3 separate regions of the Homo sapiens genome follow, and all the other regions are linked to region 3. Evidence: promoter capture Hi-C in 16 types of primary human blood cells and fetal thymus (Javierre and others, 2016). All regions are on one chromosome and are shown on one strand. The core of a region is centred on a gene start or on the middle of the fragment in contact, and the rest is flanking DNA. Distances in the headings are between cores, read along the strand shown.

Region 1 (2,700 bases), core at 137-2,636, 240 kb before region 3:
GAGTTGGTACATTAGACTGGGAAGTCAGGGAGGCCTCAGTGAGCAAAAAGCTGCCATGTGAAACCCTAGGGCAGGTTCTTCTCAGTCTTGACATTCACACTGTGATTGAGTGTGGATATGAAGGATGGGACGGGCGGGGCGGGCATTGTGTCAGGTCTTGGAGAGGCCAAGAGAGGCAGAGGCAGGGGCAGGGTAGAAAAACAGAATCAGAGCAAACATTGTCAGTTGCAAATTATCACTTTTGCAACACTGAATTTTCTTGTTTTTCTCCCCTTTCCCTTTCCTTGGCTGGTTAGTTAATATATTTTTATAGCGCCCTTTTCTTTCCTTTGCATGATTGTGAAATCTTGCTGTTTACCTCTACTTTTAACACCATCCTTGTAAAGTCCCACAGTCCTCACAGTGGTCAGGCTGCATCAGCATAATGGAAAAAACAATATTTCTCCTTGATTTAACTTTGGAGAGAGTCTGACAGAAGGAGTGAGTGCTCTCAAATGCCTTCAGTTCTGCTGAGTCCTTAGGAGTCCAGTTAGGCCTTCCTGGGCCATCACTGCTTGAAGCCCAATTATGTGATTTGTCACATCTTCCTCTAGACTATACTCATGCCTAAAGAATCTCCATCCTTGAAACTCCCATTTCCTGCGTTAATTTCCAGGAAATGGACTCCCTTCAAGGATCCTCAGAAAGAATCTAAAAAAGGGTCCTTGAAGGCAGTTAATTTCTGGTTAAATAAAACATCTGCCATCTTTTCAGAATATAGACTTTTCCTTCTTACCATAAAAAACGTGAGCTTGTTCTGGGCAGTGATTTCTTTGCTAGGTCCCAAAAGTACAGGCAATGAAAACAATAATAGACAAATGGTATTGCATCAAACAAAAAAAACTACTGCACAGCAAAGGAAATAATTAACAGAGTGAAGATACAGTCCACGGATTGGGAGAACATATTTGCAAATTATACAGCATAAAATGGGCTAATATCCAAAATATACAAGGTATTCAAATGACTCAATCGAAAGAAACAAATAACTTGATTAAAAACTGGGCAAACAATGTGAATACACATTTTTCAAAATACACACAAATGGCCAATAGATATTTGGAAAAATGCTCAATATTACTGATCAGGGAAATGTAAATAAAACCACAATAATATATCACCTCATGCTGTTAGATTGACTATTACAAAAAAGATGAATGAAAACAAGTGTTGGAGAGGATGAGGAAAAAAGAAAACTCTTGTACACTGTTGGAGGAAATGTAAATTAGTACAGTCATTGATATGGTTTGGCTGTGTCCCCATCCAAATCTGAGCTTGAATTGTATCTCCCGGAATTCCCACATGTTATGGGAGGGACCCAGGGAGAGGTAGTTTAATGATGGAGGCCGTCTTTTCCCATGCTATTCTCATGATAGTGAATAAGTCTCATGAGATCTGATGGGATTATCAGGGGTTTCCTCATTTGCTTCTAGCTCATTTTCTCTTGCCACCACCATGTAAGAAGTGCCTTCACTTCCCGCCATGATTCTGAGATTTCCCCAGCCATGTGGAACTGTCCCAATAAACCTCCTTTTCTTCCCAGTCTTGGGTATGTCTTTATCAGCAGCATGAAAACAGACTAATATAGTAAATTGTTACCAGTAGAGGGGTATTGCTGAAAAGATACCAGAAAATGTGAAAGTGATTTTGGAGCTGGGTAACAGGCAGAAGTTGGAACAGTTTGGAAGCCCCAGAGGAAGACAGGAAAATGTGGGAAAGTTTGGAACTTCCTAGAGACTTGTTGAATGGCTTTGACCAAAATGCTGATAGTGATATGGACAATAAGGTCTAGGCTGAGGTGGTCTCAGATGGAGATGAGGAGCTTGTTGGGAACTGGAGTAAAGGTGGATCTTGTTATGTTTTAGCAAAGAGGCTGGTGGCATTTTGCCCCTGCCCTAGAAATTTGTAAAACTTTGAACTTGAGAAAGATGATTTAGGGTATCTGGTGGAAGAAATTTCTAAGCAGCAAAGCATTCAAGAGGTGACTTGTTAAAGGCATTCAATTTCATAACAGAAGCAGAGCATAAAAGTTTGGAAAGTTTGCAACCTGACTATGCAATAGAAAAGAAAACCCCATTTTCTGGGGAGAAATTCAAGCCAGCTGCAGAAATTTGCATAAGCAGTGAGGAGCCTACTGTTAATCCCCAAGACCATGGGGAAAATGTCTTTAGGCCATGTCAGAGACCTTCACAGCAGCCCCTCCCATCACAGGTCTGGAGGCCCAGGAGGAAAAAGTAGTTTCCTGGGCTGGACAGAGGATCCCTGTGCTGTGTGCAGCCTAGGGACTTTGACAGAACAGGAGCATCACCATCTTGGACAAACACCACCATTCTAAAGTTCCCCTTAATCAAAAACCACCTAAATCCACAGGGCATCAGCCTAAAGGCTAAGGCCAGCATGACCATAAACCATAAATGACATCTCTGACCAGAAACATTTCAACCATAAGATAAACCCCTCCCCAGAGAGATGTCAGCCCCAAGACAACCTCCCCTCCTACCAGAGACATTCCAAACCCACAATAAACTTCTTCCCCACAAAGAAACATTCCAAGCCTATGATAAGCTCTCTCACCCTAAAATCAACAAATACGCTTAATCTGTAAGAGAGTGTGCTCCTGACCAAAATCAGCCAGAAGCCCCTCTCAGGTTTATTCTCCAA
Region 2 (2,700 bases), core at 11-2,510, 130 kb before region 3:
ACACACTTTGAGAACTTTTAGTAATTAAAAGAATGGCTTTTAAAACTTACTTAAAACTGTTTAATGAGAACAGGTGGCTAGAGAAGCATTTTATACCACAGATGATTAAATGGACTCACCTTGTAAAGGGGTCATGAAAAAATAAGTTAAAAACAAGTAAAGTGCGTTAACAGATCAGTAAAATAATTTGGAAAACTATACATACTTCAAGAAAACGTTAATACATTTCCAAAAACACTAAATGTTAAGCTTTTTGTCTTGAAAAATACACAAAAATGTTTTATTTAAAAGATAAAAGTAGAAATTACTCTTTAAAAATCAACAAAGTAAAATTTTGAGATACAAAATGGTATATTAGGGGTGGGGGGAGTTTTCTTTTTAAAAAATAATAATGACTAAAGGAAACTCATGAAGTTTAATATCAATGTGAAAAATTACTATAAAATGATTTTTAGCCCCACTTGTTAAGAAACTATATTATATAGTATTATGTGCTATTTCTTTTCTAGAGCACCAAATAATCATCTGATATTAGGTGTTTTACACTGTAAATGAGCTAATTTGTTTATTTATTTATGGAGATAGGTCTCACTCTGTAATCCAGGCTGGAGTGCAGTGGAATAAACACAGCTCCTTGCAGCCTCGACCTCCTGGGCCCAAGCAATCCTCCTGCCTCAGCCTCCCAAGCAGCTGAGACCACAGGTGCACACCACCATGTCTGGCTAATTATTAAAAAAAAAAATTGCGTGGAGTTGGGGTCTCACCGTGTTGCCCAGGCTGGTCTCAAACTCCTGGGCTCAAGCAATTCTCACATCTCAGCCTCCCAAAGTGCTGGGATTACAGGTGTGAGCTACTGGGCCCAGCCCTAATTTGTTTTTAAATCCAAAAATAAATCAACAACAGAAGATAGCACTCTAACTTTTACTATTTTAAAATATTTTCTGCATAGCTTCCCCAAATATTAGCATTCTAATTGTGACCAGCATTATGGTTTTTAATGAGCCTAATCCAAGTAAACAATAAACAAATGCGCATGAAAACTGTGAGAAATAACCATTGGTGTATGCTTATGTTCCATAAATAGTTATCAAGTTTACCTTTAAATTGCATGTTTAGTTTTTCCTTACAACTTAACACTAGATACAGGAAACTGTAGAAGTCATAAACAAAGACTAAACAAAATCCTCTCGTCTTGCTAAGATGTGTACATGATTGCAGTAGACTTATGCTGAATATAAATATATGTTACATACATGTCTCTTATTCTATACAAAATCTCAGCCAATATTTTCCCACAGAGGAGAGGAATTTGTTCTCTCAAATTGAAAGTTTTTGCCCTTTAAAAAGGTTATTTTAAATAGCCCTAAAGAAATATGTTCTGAAAATAACAGTTGTATCATATTCCACTTACTATTTTCCGGTTGAAAACTTCAATAAAATAAGTTTACCATAGTCAATAAGCCTGTTCAATGAACACTGAAAAATAAAAATTTATCCCCAGAGTGATTGCAAATGAAAATGTGTGCTATTTCAAAATTACATGTACCTCTTTAAAAATCAGGGCAATTAATAGAACACTTAAATCGTATTAGCTAAATTCAAATTTAGCCCCTAACAATAAAGTTTTCTTATTCCTTTATAGTGTTTTACAAAATAATGAATTAATTATCATAATTTTCTTTTGCTACTTACTTCAAACTATAAAGTTAGGACTGCAAATTGATGTAGGTATCTTATATTATTGGTCTACACCTACTTATTTATAAACATTAATGGAAACAATACTGTTCCAATCTACCACAAGGATTTCCTTCTATTTTACAAGCAAGAACTTCTAACCCAGCTCAACAACAAATCACACTTTAAATTTGGGTTTGAAAACATGTATTATTAGAGGCACATGTTTAAAAACAAGTACAGTATGAAATCTTCCTTTTCAGTGAGCCAGTGAATTTTCATTCGTTTGTTTGTTTCTATGAATATTTGGTTTACTTCCTTCTTCTGGGCAAGATTAGTATGCAATTCTCATTAGCAAGTCAAAAACCTACAGACCTAAACTATATGAAAACTTAAGTTGGTATTGTTAGATGAAGACAGGTAAGCTAACACCAAAAGAACAACTGTACTAAATTTTAACACTATTCTTTAATAGTTCCATTTTCCTGAGTTTGTGTTTGTTCTTTGGCATTGGTTTAGGATATAATCCATTTTTTCAGAAGGCGTTGCTTGCTGGGGCCAATTTGGGCACCATGCTAAATCTGGAAAGAGCATAAAGCTTCAAGAGGGCGAAGCAAAGTCTCTTGTATGTAATTATTTTTCTCCAAGATGGAAAGAGCAACAGGTGCACACTCCAGTGTAGAAAGACATCTATTAATTGGCTGTATCCGAATTACATACTGACTAGAAATGCTCGTTTTTAACTGCACCTGTTTGGGGGTGTCAGAACAAGGAATTCTTACAGAAAATGTCCTTAGCCTGGCTCCGTGTACCATCAATGACGATGATTGTAGAAGGATAAACAGGAGAATCTAATATAAATTCTTCCAGATTAGCAGCTTCTTATATTAGCCCCTGGATATAACATTAATGTACCAAACTTCCGGCAAACAGTTGAAAGTTCAGGATCTCTTTCTTCACTGAAGCGACGACCAGTCTTCACTTTGCGCTTGTCCTGGGGGAGGCATGCTGCTGGTAGAGGAA
Region 3 (2,700 bases), core at 184-2,683:
ATAGCATTTATTTTATAAAACACATTTGATAACAAGAAAAACATAGGTCTATTTCTGTTAAACACAGGCAAGCAAAAGTCACATGTAAAAACACAGCTAGACAGAACATCTAGGGCCTTCACAAGTATCTGCTTTAATTAATGTTGGTAAACAAAAAGACCCAATGCAGTGACACATTTGCAAACATTATATCTAAATCCAACTAGATCACAGTTTCCCAGTCAATATAGCTTAAGTTTCTCTGAAAACAAAATAGTTTATATATTACGAAAAACAAAAAAACACAGTTGGGCTCAGTGGCTCATGCATGTAATCCCAGCACTTTGGGAGGCTAAGGTGGGCAGATTGCTTGAGCCCAGGAGTTTGAGACCAGTCTGAGCAAGGAAATCCAGTCTCTACAAAATATAAAAAAATTAGCTGGGTGTGGTGGTGCATGGTCTATAGTCCCAGCTCCTCGAGAGTCTGAGACGGGAGGATCACTTGAGCCTAGGGAGGTTGAGACTGCAGTGAGCCACGATTGCATCACTGCACTCCAGCCTGGGTGACAGAGTGAGAGCCTGTCTCAAAAAAAAAAAAATAAGAAAAATAAGAAACCCCTTTTCATAGTGATGAAGCAATCAGCTAACTGCTAAAGAATCTTCACAGGCGAGGCTGGGTACGGTGGCTAATGTCTATAATCCCAGCACATTGGGAGGCCAAGGTGGGACGATTACTTGAGGTCAGGAGTTTGAAACCAGCCTGGTCAATCTAGCAAGACTTCCTCTCTACAGAAACGAAAAAAATTAGCCAGGCACCCTCACGCTCAGTGCCTGTAGTCCCCGCACTTTCAAAGGCTGAAGCAGGAGGATCCTTTGAGCCCTGGAAGGTCGAAGCTGCAGTGAGTTGTGATCGCACCACTGCACGACAGCCTGGGCGAAAGAGTGAGAACCTGTCTCAAAAAAAAAAGAGAATCTTCACAGGCATCCCTTCCTCCCAAGTCTCCTCACTTGTCTTATCTGAAGGTTTGTTCCCCAGAACTATGAGAACCCTCTACATCTCTTTCTCTCAGCCCAGCCAGGTTCCTCTGGGCTTGAGTCCTACATCCCTGGCCTCAGCTACAAGGTGAGTACAGTCTAAGGACCAGCTCCTCTCATTGTCTATTTCACTTATTTATTAAAAGTGTAGACCTAAAGTGTCTACTTCATCCTCTCTTGCCTAAAGTGGGTATATCTGGAAAAGTCTGTAGCCACAGAGGAGATTTTCATCTTAGAGTTATGAGGTCTCTTTGAGAGACTCTCCATTCCATTGAATAAGCATGGCTTAGATCTCTCTGGACAATCTGTACTTACCTTGGGAGTTAAAAGATTCCACAGGGTTGAGATGCTGAAAAGATGAGAAAGTTCCAGGAGCTCTGATCTACTTAGGAGTCCCTGCAGTTTGGCTGAGGACAGTGGTAATCCTCAAAGGCTAGAAATGGCTTTCAAATCTGAGCGCTCTGCAGAACAAGTCCAGGAAAAATGCTGCTTTGGTATTTCTGAGAATGAAACTAGAAGGTTGCCGCCTTTTTAAAGTTTCCATTTCTCAGAATTCTCCTACTCATTTTAGGCCTGCCATTCTAGCCTCAAGGGGGGAATATGTGCTATTTCCTGTTTATCAATAGACTAAGTGGGCCAAAGACTAGTTCTGGCTAAAGACTAAAGAAACTTTATCAGAAGAAATGCTTCAAACACTTTGGAGAATAATGCTACAAAAAAGCTTTTTTGGATACACACCAAACTGTTATTAAGGATTACTTTCTCAGAAGTAGAACTGGAGAGGAAGAAGATGGAAAGGGAGGAGAGAATTGTTACTTTGTACAGTAGGCCTGAGTTACTCAACAAATATTTTTTATTGGCAAGGAAAAGGGAAAAAACAAAACAAAAAGAAACAGTGAAAGAGCCAGAAAGGAAATTAAACAGTGCATCTCACTGACTTTCTCATTCAATTTTTATAGTAGCCTCCATAATCCTAATAGTTGTTGTAATTAGAGCCGAGATGGATTCACTGCTATTAATTTAGCTGCTAATACTGTTGCTATTGTTCTGATCAAGTTTCTGCTACTTTTTGACCTGCTGTCTCCCTCAACAGCTGTAGGAGTCACAATTCCCTTGAGCTCTTGTTGGTTTCTTGTTCCATTTTTTTTGGGTTTCTATCCTTATACATTGAAAAAATTATTACAGTGTGGATTTAGCAATCATTTTTAGCTATAAGAAAAGGTGCTGTGCACTAGAGGGAATTGAATTAGAGATGTCATTCGTTAATCAGATAATTAGTTCCCAATCTTGGCTGCTTGTTCAAATCTTTTGGCATGCTTTTTAAAAATTCAGATGCTAAGGTCCTTCCCCAGACATTCTGAATTATACTGTCAAGTAGTGGTGCAATATCAGGAGGTAGAGACATATCACATATACACAACACACACATATAGGCATAAACATAAAGACAGACACAAATAGATCTTATAATTTTCATTTAAAATCTTAGCCATGATTAGGTATACATAAACACAAAATTTAATAATTTTGATAAAAATTGATTCTCATCTTTGCCTATTAATATTTTCTTTCGATCTCATCTTTCCATAGACATTTGTTTAGGATGACAGCTTTCTTTTAAAAAAAAATCCTTTTAGATATAAAAGTTCAAATCTTCAAAGGTATACCTGTCTTAATTGTGACTCAA

Evidence for each region. Contacts are between HindIII fragments. The CHiCAGO score rates a contact against its expected background, and 5 or more counts as called.
Region 1: a fragment that was not itself captured here is called in contact with the fragment with the promoter of SLFN12L in region 3 in 17 of 17 cell types (naive CD8 T cells, activated CD4 T cells, non-activated CD4 T cells and 14 more); the score reaches 27.8 in naive CD8 T cells.
Region 2: a contact is called between a fragment that was not itself captured here and the fragment with the promoter of SLFN12L in region 3, in 4 of 17 cell types (total CD8 T cells, activated CD4 T cells, naive CD8 T cells and 1 more). The highest score is 8.3, in total CD8 T cells.

Annotation. Positions count from the first base shown.
Region 1 is chr17:35,295,310-35,298,009 of GRCh38, forward strand. No RefSeq gene overlaps it. Among named protein-coding and RNA genes, the nearest start is that of SLFN5, 54 kb to the left of the region's middle. The HindIII fragment of the contact is 4,202 bases long and covers 1-2,700 here.
Region 2 is chr17:35,404,817-35,407,516 of GRCh38, forward strand. It overlaps the pseudogene LOC729839. Among named protein-coding and RNA genes, the nearest start is that of SLFN12, 26 kb to the right of the region's middle. The HindIII fragment of the contact is 2,026 bases long and covers 248-2,273 here.
Region 3 is chr17:35,536,245-35,538,944 of GRCh38, forward strand. SLFN12L (schlafen family member 12 like) reads right to left here and starts at 1,434. Exons shown (of 5, transcript NM_001363830.2): 1 at 1,329-1,434. RefSeq lists an enhancer at 762-841. The HindIII fragment of the contact is 3,143 bases long and covers 1-1,732 here.